Regions from separate parts of the Homo sapiens genome. Here region 1 is linked to region 2. The links are contacts of gene promoters, found by promoter capture Hi-C in human tissues and cell types (Jung and others, 2019). All regions are on one chromosome and are shown on one strand. Each heading gives the region's core, a stretch centred on a gene start or on the middle of the fragment in contact. The rest is flanking DNA. Distances are from core to core; before and after follow the strand shown. Region 1 overlaps UBE2F (ubiquitin conjugating enzyme E2 F (putative)). Region 2 holds the start of UBE2F-SCLY (UBE2F-SCLY readthrough (NMD candidate)).

What was found. The method cuts DNA at HindIII sites, captures the fragments that hold promoters and counts their contacts. A contact is called where the count stands out against the background at its distance.
Region 1: a fragment that was not itself captured here is called in contact with the fragment with the promoter of UBE2F-SCLY in region 2 in 4 of the 25 tissues and cell types used here (H1 embryonic stem cells, IMR-90 fibroblasts, hippocampus and 1 more).

Annotation. Positions count from the first base shown.
Region 1 is chr2:238,005,805-238,010,463 of GRCh38, reverse strand. All of the region lies in intron 4 of UBE2F (ubiquitin conjugating enzyme E2 F (putative)), which reads right to left. All of the region lies in intron 4 of UBE2F-SCLY (UBE2F-SCLY readthrough (NMD candidate)), which reads right to left. Among named protein-coding and RNA genes, the nearest start is that of UBE2F, 41 kb to the right of the region's middle. The HindIII fragment of the contact is 3,461 bases long and covers 1-3,022 here.
Region 2 is chr2:237,963,667-237,968,272 of GRCh38, reverse strand. UBE2F-SCLY (UBE2F-SCLY readthrough (NMD candidate)) reads right to left here and starts at 1,328. Exons shown (of 19, transcript NR_037904.1): 1 at 1,141-1,328. It overlaps UBE2F (ubiquitin conjugating enzyme E2 F (putative)), which reads right to left and starts at 1,259. Exons shown (of 10, transcript NM_080678.3): 1 at 1,141-1,259. RefSeq lists a silencer at 1,036-1,215 and cis regulatory regions at 2,732-3,395, 3,722-4,125. The HindIII fragment of the contact is 7,997 bases long and covers 1-4,606 here.

The DNA of each region.
Region 1 (4,659 bases), core at 43-2,542, 42 kb before region 2:
CACGGTGGCTCACGCCTGTAATCCCAGCACTTTGGGAGGCCAAGGCAGGCGGATCACAAGGTCAAGAGTTCGAGACCAGCCTGGCCAACATGGTGAAACCCGTCTATACTAAGAATACAAAAATCAGTCGGGCATAGTGGCGGGTACTTGTATTCCCAGCTACTTGGGAGGCTGAGGCAGAAGAACTACTTGAACCCGGGAGGCAGAGGTTGCAGTGAGCCAAGATTGTGCCACTGCACTCCAGCCTGGGCAATAAAGCAAGACTCTGTATCGAAAAAAAAACCAAATAAATAAAGCTCAATCTATCTATCTACCTGTATATCTAGTTACAGAAGAGTATAAAAAAATGACAAATAAAATACTTAAAAGCATAAAAATGTTTACATTAGGGTGCAATTCAAGGGAACAAGTGGAATGAAAACATGAGTGCCAGGAGAAAAACTAGCAAAGGTTTTCCAGCCAGTGAAGTAGAGCTTATTCACATCAAAATAAACAAAAAAACAAAAAAACAAAAAACTGTGATGATGGGAGTATCTGTGGTGGTGGGCATATCTGTGGTATTTATATTCTACACTGGAAACATTTCAAAGAGTAATATAAGACTTTCATTTTTAAATGTCAATATTTACAGCACCCTGGAAGTGACATCCTATGCAAACTTTAAACTTAAAAGGCTCTGATCCATCTCAGATCAGACTGTTGAAAGAGAAGAGACAGAGACAGATGGTGGAGAAGAGGAAGTGAGTGTGAGCGGAGGCAGGAGGCAGCACAGACATGGGCACCAGGGAGTGGCCAGGACTCTGGGATGCAGGGCTGCAGACAAAGGCACAATGACAGCTATTGTATAGAGATGCTGAGACTTAGAGGAAAACATGAACATAATGAGGAAAGAAATGGACGGTTACGGGGAAAGCACCAAATGGAACGTCAACAGCTAGAAAATACAGTATCTGAAATGAAAAATTCACTGGATGCGCTTAACAGCAAATGAGACATTGCAGAAAAACAAACTGTCCAAAATGAGGCACAGAAAGAAAAGTGAACGAAGACCTGCGACCCAATGGAGGTATAATTTACACGTAGAAGTAATCTATATGTAAGACATATATGATATAGATATATAAACTAGAGTGCCAGAAAACGATCACAGAAAAATATTTAAAGAAATGTTGGCCAAATTATTTCTAAATTGGATGAAAACTATAACTCACAGATCCAAAAAGCTTAATAAACCCCAAGTGTGATAAAAAGAAAAAACCACTTCAAAGCACATTATAATCAAACTGCTGAAAGCAGTGATAAGGAGAAAATCTTAAAAGCAGCCAGAGAATAAAATGCACATCGCATAAAGTGGAACAAAGAATCACCACTAACTTGTAAGGAAAAAATACAGAAGGCAGTAGAATGATATCCTTAAAATGCTGAAACTGTCAACTTAAGAATTCAAACTTCAGCAACACTTGACAGAATTCATCACAAGCAAATCTGCACTACAAAAAAATCTTCAAGGATGTTCTTTAGGCAGAAGGAAAATAACAGAGAGGAGAAATCTAGATCTACAAAAGGGAATGAGGGTCATAAATGTTAAGTATGTGGAGACATATATTTTAAAAACAGACTGTAAAGCACAGATAATATATTCTGGGTTACAACATATGTAAAAGTAAAACAAATGAGAACTATAATATAAAGGTTGAGCTGGGAAATGGAAACATACTACTGTTTGTCTAAGCTTCCATCTTAAACATCAGAAAAAGAAGAGCAAATTAAACTGGAAATAAAGAGGAGGGAAATAACAAAGACATGAACAAAATTCAAAAAACAACAGGGCAAAATCAATGAACCTAAAAGTAGGTTCTTTGCAAAGGTCAAAAAATTGACAATCTTCTCATTAACCTGATCAAGAGAAAAAGACAAAAATTACAACATCAGTAATTAAAGAGGAGATACAACACAAACTCTACAGAACTTAAAAGGATAGGATAAGATGATACTAAGAACATTATATCAATAAATTGAAAAATGCAGATGATATGAGCAAATCCCTTGAAGGACACAAATTAGTGAAGCCCACTCAAGAATAACCTAGGCAGCCCTATATCTATTAGAAATTGTGTTTATACTTAAAATCTTACCACAACAAAACAAAATTCCAGAGACAGGTGGCTTCACAGGTGAATTCTACCACTGAATAAAGAATTAATAGGCCAGGCACAGTGGCTCACACCTGTAATCTCAGCACTTTGGGAGGATCACTTGAGCCCAAGGGTTCGAGACCAGCCTGGGCAACATAGTGAGACCCCCGTCTCTACAAAAAATAATTAGCTGGACATGGTAGTGCATCTGCCCACTACAGACGATGGGCATCTGTAGTCCCAGTTACCTGGGAGCCTGAGGCGGGAGGACTGCTTGAGCCCAGGATGTTGAGGCTGCAGTGAGGCGTGATCGTGCCACTGTGCTTCAGCCTGGGCAAGAGAGTAAGACCTTGTCTAAAAAAAAATCAATTAACTAATTAATACTAATTTTACACAAACTCTTCCAGAGAATAGGACACTCCCCAAATGCATTCAAAGACCAGAATGCATTACCTTGACACCAAAATTAGGCAACTCATTACAAAAAAAACTACAAATATCCCTCACAGACAGGTAAGGATTTGTAAAAATTCTTAACAAAATACTAATATATCAAACTGAGCAATATATGAAACCATTAACACATAATACATGATGAATTATGGTTTATCTCACAAATGCAGCTTTGGTTCAACATTTGAAAAATAATCTATTAATGTAATTTACCTTATCAACAGACCAAAACAGAAAAACCATTATGATCACCTCAGTAGATGCAGAAAAAGCATTTGGCAAATTAAGCATCCATTCATTATTGGCCATTTTTGGTTTGGGAGGAAAAAAGCATCCATTCATGATTAAAAAAAAAATACATACATACATATACATATATATGTATATATGCAAACAAGAAGTAGAAAAGAACTTCTCAACCTGATAAAGGGCATCTGCAAAAACCCTATAGCAAGGCCGGACTCAGTGGCTCACGCCTGTAATCCCAGCACTTTGGGAGACCAAGGTGGGCAGATTACCTGAGGTCAGGAGTTCGAGACCAGCCTGGCCAATATGGTGAAATGCCATATCTACTAAAAATATAAAAATTAGCTGGGCATGGTGGTGGGCACCTGTAGTCCCAGCTAATTAGGAAGCTGAGGCACATGAATCGCCTGAACCCGGGAGGCAGAGAATGCAGTGAGCTGAGATCACACCACTGCACTCCAGCCTTGGCGATAGAGCAAGACTCTGTCTCGAAAAAACAGACAAAAACCCTACAGCAAACCATACACGTAATGATGAAAGACTGACAGCAACCCCCTAAGATTAGAAACAAGCCAGCTGGGTGCAGTGGCTCACGCCTGTAATCCCAGCACTTTGGGAGGCAGAGGCAGGCGGATCACCTGAGGTTGGGAGTTCGAGACCAGCCTGACCAACATGGTGAAACCTCATCTCTACTAAAAATACAAAAATTAGCCGGGTGTGGTGGTGCATGCCTATAATCCCAGCTACTTGGGAGGCTGAGGCAAGAGAATTGCTTGAACCTGGGAGGTGGAGGTTGTGGTGAGCTGAGATCATGCCATTGTACTCCAGCCTGGGAAACAAGAAGGAAACTCTCAAAAAAAAAAAAAAAAAGAAAAAAGAAAAAAGGAACAAGCCAAGGATGTCCCTCCTACCACTTCTATATATGACTGTACTGGAAGTCTTAGACAACAAAGTAAAGCAAGAAGAGGAAACAGAAGGATACAGACTGAAAGGGAGAGATAAAATTGTCTTTATGCATAGATGGCATGATAGTTTACATAGGAAAGTCTACAGAATCCACAATACAACTACTACAATGAAAAGCAGGTTTATCAAGGTTGTAGGACACAAGGTCACTATACAAAAATCAGCTGTATTTTTATGTACTAGCAACAGAAAACTGAAATGGAGATATAAACCATGTTCATGGATTAGAAGATGTGATAATTAAGATGACAATTGATATGGTTTGGACGTGTGTCCCCTCCAAATCTCATGTTGAAATGTGATGCCCATTGTTTGTTTGAGGTGGGGTCTGGTGGGAGGTGTCTGGGTGATGGAGAAGATCCCTTATGAATGGCTTAGTGCCATGGTAATTAGTGAGTTTTTACTGTTAGTTCATGCAAGAGTTGGTTGTTTAAAAGAGTCTGCATCTCTTTTGCTCCCTCTCTCACCATGTGATATGCCGGCTCCACTTTGCCTTCCGCTAGGATTATAAGCTTCCTGATGCCCTCACTAGAGGCAGATGCCAGCACCGTGCTTCCTACACAGCCTGCAGAACCATAAGCCAAAATTAGCCTCTTCTTCACAAATTACCTGGCCTCAGGTATTTCTTTATAGCAATGCAAATAAACAAACACAGCAATTCTCCCCAAATTGATTTACATTAGAGTCAATGCAGTCCTAATCAAAATCTCAGCAAGTTTTTTGCCGAATTTCACAGGCTGATTCTAAAGTGTATGTGGAAAAGTAAAGGAACAAAAATCACCAAAATAATTTTCTACCAAAAAGTAGAAAAATGTTGAAGGAGTCAGAGGTCACATGATGGGATTTCAAGACTTACTAT
Region 2 (4,606 bases), core at 79-2,578:
TCCAGGTGGGGGGTCCTCAAGCCCCACAGCACTAAGCTTGGTGTGATTCTGTCTCTCAATCTCTCTCTCTCTCCCACCTCTATGCTCCCCCTTGCCTTCATCTCACTCCTCAGCCAGGATTCCTCTGCACCAGGCAGGCCAGTTTCCTCTTTGTTCCTTCACAACACCCTGTTCATTTCCAGAAGCTTCTATTCAGTCTGATACCCAGGTCTAGAATGCCCTCCTTCCCTTCACAAACGAATCCTACCCCTTCCTTAAGGGGAAGATTCCTACCTACATCCCAACATCTCCTCCTCCAAGAAGCTTTCTCTGGCTATTCCAACCCATCCTGCCCCCACTTCCAGGCGGTCGGGAATGCAGAGTGGGGGGACCCAATTCTCTCCTGTGACAGATGAGGAAACTGAGCCCAGGGAGGGGAAGGCCACACCCAAGATGACACACCAGCAGAACTAGGTCTGGAACCAAGACTCTGCTGCACTAATTGTTCCAAGATGCCCTTCCTTCCTCGTCTCCTTTGCTGTGGTAAAAATTTTCCAAACTAGCCTGGCCGCCCCCAGTTGTAGGTAAGCGTCCATACTTACTCTTCCCGCTGCAGGTACGAGGACCGGGCGCGAGTTGTCACTCCCCTCACCTCCCCCGCTCCTCACGGCCTAGCGCGACTCCTGCCCCGATCGGGAGTCCAGTCCCGGTTTCTGCGGCCACGTCGGGCCGGTGACCTTGGCCAGGCGCTGGACGCCCCGCTTCCTCCGTACAAGGCAGGCAGCCGATCCCGCGAGTGGGGCGTGAGCGCGGCCAGGTCTGTGCCACGCTCGGCCCAGGGCCTGGTTCACACCAGGTGCTCGGCGCGGGCCGTCCCCCGCCGCCGCCGCCGCGGTCACTCACTGCCGGGCGAGGCCAGCGCCCCGGCCGCCGACGCCGCCTCCGACCCCCGGCTCGCGGCCCGCGGCCCGCGGCCCCTTCCCATTCACGCCGCTCGGCCTCGCGTCCGGGTGCCCGCGCCCGCCAGGCCCCCGGCGTGAGGAACCCGGCGGGCCCGAGGCGGCCCCGCCACCGCCCGCGCCCTCCGCCCGGCCCGCAGGCCAGCCCGTGCACCGGCGGCCGCACCTCGCCCCGCCGCAGAGCCGCACGGTCGCTCCTCACCTGGGCTCCCCGAGACAGGCGAGGCGGGCCCGGCGCCCAACACCATGCCCGGTCCGGGCGGCTGCTGCGAGACGCGGCCCCTCACAGCCGCACCGGCTCCCGGCGGCGGGACCGGAAGTGGCGGGGCGGGGACTCGGCCGCTCTCGCCCGCGGCAGCCGAGACAGCAGCGGGCGCTTTAAAAAAAAAATTCAAAGTCGCGAAAAACTTTATTTGGAACCAGACACGCGAACAGCGGCGTGCGCCGATCGGGACTGGGCTGGGCGACGGGCCTCTCGGACCTCGCTCATTGGCAGAGGGCGCGGCCAGGGGGCGGGCACGGATTTCGCAACCGCCGCTGATTGGCGAGTAGCGTTAGGGGCGGGGATTCCGAGTTGGCTCTGGAGCCCGAGCGCCGGAGGGCTGGGGGTTTTGCACCTGGTTCCAACACGGGTTCACTTCGTGGTCTGCAGGGTTTAGGGGCACGGAGGAGCCCGGGCTATCCTTCCCTGAAGGAGCGGCCTCCGTGGCTGGAGCTCCCGCTGTCCAGCGCCGCACCTGGAGTGCAAAGGACTGGACAGGCCCCCGCAGCCTGCAGTGCAGGCGGTGAGGGAGACCGGGCGGTCAGACACGCAAGCCACGACCAACCCCAAACCGTGTGCTGCGCCCACAGGCCCCACTGTTCTTGTCATGTCCCTTTTATTCCTTCTTTTCTCTCTTAAATGTGTTTAAAGTACCTTAAAAATCCATTTCAACTTGTCCTCTTTTGGGCGCCCAGATTCATCCCGCGCCCATTAGCGTCCTGTGTGATTGACGAGGGGCCGTCCTGGGCGTCAGGCAGGCCCCTGGAGGAGTGGGCCATTAGAAAGATGAGGTTCAGCATGGAAACGGTCAGAAAGAGACAAGGAGTTAGACTTTCATTTCGAAAAACCCCACTGAGAGGTTTCTAACAGTGGAGTGACTATCAGGTTTTCTTCCTAAAGGAGGCTGGCGGGCCCGGTGGCTCACGCCTGTAATCCTAGCACTTTGGGAGGCCAAAGTGGGAGGATCCCATGAGCCCAAGAGTTTAAGACCAGCCTCCTGATGGTGGCAAGACCCCATCGCTACAAAAAAAGAAAAAAAAAATTAGCCGCGTGGTGGCGCGCGCCTGTAGTCCCAGCTACTCAGGAGGCTGGGATGGGAGGATCACCTGAGCCCAGGAGGTTGAGGCTGCAGTGAGCCGTGATCGCACCACTGCACTCCAGCTTGGGTGACAGGGCAGACCCTGTCCCCATAATAATAATAAAGGCTTTGGCTCTAAGTGAGTCGGTGGGAATGGAGTCAGGAAAACTGGTCAAGAACACAACTCAGCCGGGCGCAGTGGCTCAGGCCTGTAATCCCAGCACTTTGGGAGGCCGAGGCAGACAGATCACCTGAGGTCAGGAGTTCAAGACCAGCCTGGCCAACATGGCAAAACCCCATCTCTACTAAAAATACAAAAAAGCCGGGCGTGGTGGTGCGCCCTTGTAATCCCAGCTATTTGGAACGCTGAGGCAGGAGAATTGCTTGAACCCAGGAGGCGGAGGTTGCAGTGAGCTGACACTGCACTCCAGTCTGGGTGACACAGCAAGACTGTTTCCAGAAAAAAAAGAAAAAAGAAAGAACACAACTTGTGTTATTTCTTGTGTTTGGGACCATGTCTCTCCCTTTTTTGCCCGGCTAACTCTCAAGTTTTCCTAAGCTAAGACACCAACTTCTGATAGGCCTCAAAGCCTGGGGGTGGGGTGGGGCAGTGCAGGTGCCCTCTGTGTCTTCCTTGGAGCCCTGCACTTCCCTCTTCCTTATTGTCATGGCCTGTTTCCCTGACTAAGCTCAGCTCCTCAGCCCTCCTCTTCCTTCTTCCTCCAGCGTCACCTCCTGCCACCCCCTTTCCCATCCTGGAACATGCAGGTGATTAAAACACATCTGCTGGATAGAGATTGCATGCGCTGGCGGCATGAGTCCTGGTGAGAGGAGATAAGGGCTTGAAGATTGCAGTGTGTGAAGGTGCAGCCGGAATGGCGTGAGCACTTGTCTTACTCATAAGCGTCACTGTCTGCAGAATGGATTGCACCACACATTGGCCCACGTAGGCCCAAATTCCACCGCTGTGGATGAATGAAGTCATTTCTAGCTCCATTTCATGAGGCTGCCTAATTCTTTCACTAAGACTTATTTAGGACTTCCTAGTTTATTAACTCAATTAATCCAAACAATAACCCCATGAAACAGGTATTATCCCCATTTTATAGATGAGGAAACTGACACAGAAGTTAAGTAGTCTGTTGGCAAAAAAGGTCAAACTGTAAAATATTTGAAGAGATTTTATTCAGAGCCAAATATGAGTGACGAAGGCCTGAGTCACAGCCTCAAGAGGTCCTGAGAACATGTGCCAAGGTGGTTGGATTACAGCTCGATTTTTATAAATTTTAGGGGTGTCAGAGGCGTTTGAACCAGAGCAACTCCATCTTGAGGCTAAGACCTACTGGGCTACATTCCCAGGAGGTTAGGCATTCTAAGTCACAGGATGACATAGAAGGTTGGCACAGGTACAGGTCACAAAGAGCTTGCCGTTAAAAGGATGCCATTAAGAAGCCGGCCAAAACCAAGATAGCGACGAAAGTGTTCTCTGTTCATCCTCACTGTTCATTACGCACTAGTTATAATGTATCTGTTGCTAAAAGACACTCTCACCAGTGCCATGACAGTTTACAAATGTCATGGCAAAGACAGCAAGTTATCCTATGTGATCTAAAAATGGGAGGACCCCTCAGTTCCAGGAATTGCCCAGCCTTTTCCTGGAAAACTCACGAATAATCAACCCCTTGTTTAGCATATAATCAGGAAATGACCATAAAAGTGGCCAACCAGCAGCCCTTGGGGCTGCTCTGCCTACGTAGTAGCCATTCTTTTATTTCCTTACTTCTCTAATATACTTGCTTCACTTTACTCTAATGGATTCCTCTTGAATTCTTTCTTGTTTGAGATCCAATAACCCTCTCTTGGGGTCTGGATCAGGACCCCTTTTTGGTAACAGGGGGACAGAAGTTACAGGCAGACACCAATCAATACATGTACATTAGTTCAGTCTGGAAAGGCAGGATAACTGGAAGCAGGGAAGGGTAGGCAGGAGCTTCTGGATCATAGGTAGATTCAAAGATTTTCTGATTGGCAATTTGGTTGAAATAGTTATTGTCTAACGAACTGGAATGAATAGAAAGGAGTGTCTGGGATAAGATAAGGTGTTGTATAGACAAATGTTCTTATGTAGATGAAGCCTCCTGGTAGCAGGCTTCAGAGAAATAGATGGTAAGTATTTCTTATCAGACCTAAAAAGATGCCAGACTCTTGGTTAATCTCTCCTGGATCAGAAAAAGATCTGGAAAGGGAAATCTACAGAACGTAGATTTTCCCCACAAGAGACAGCTTTGCAAGGCCATTTCAAAATATGTCAAAGAAGGCTGGGCACGG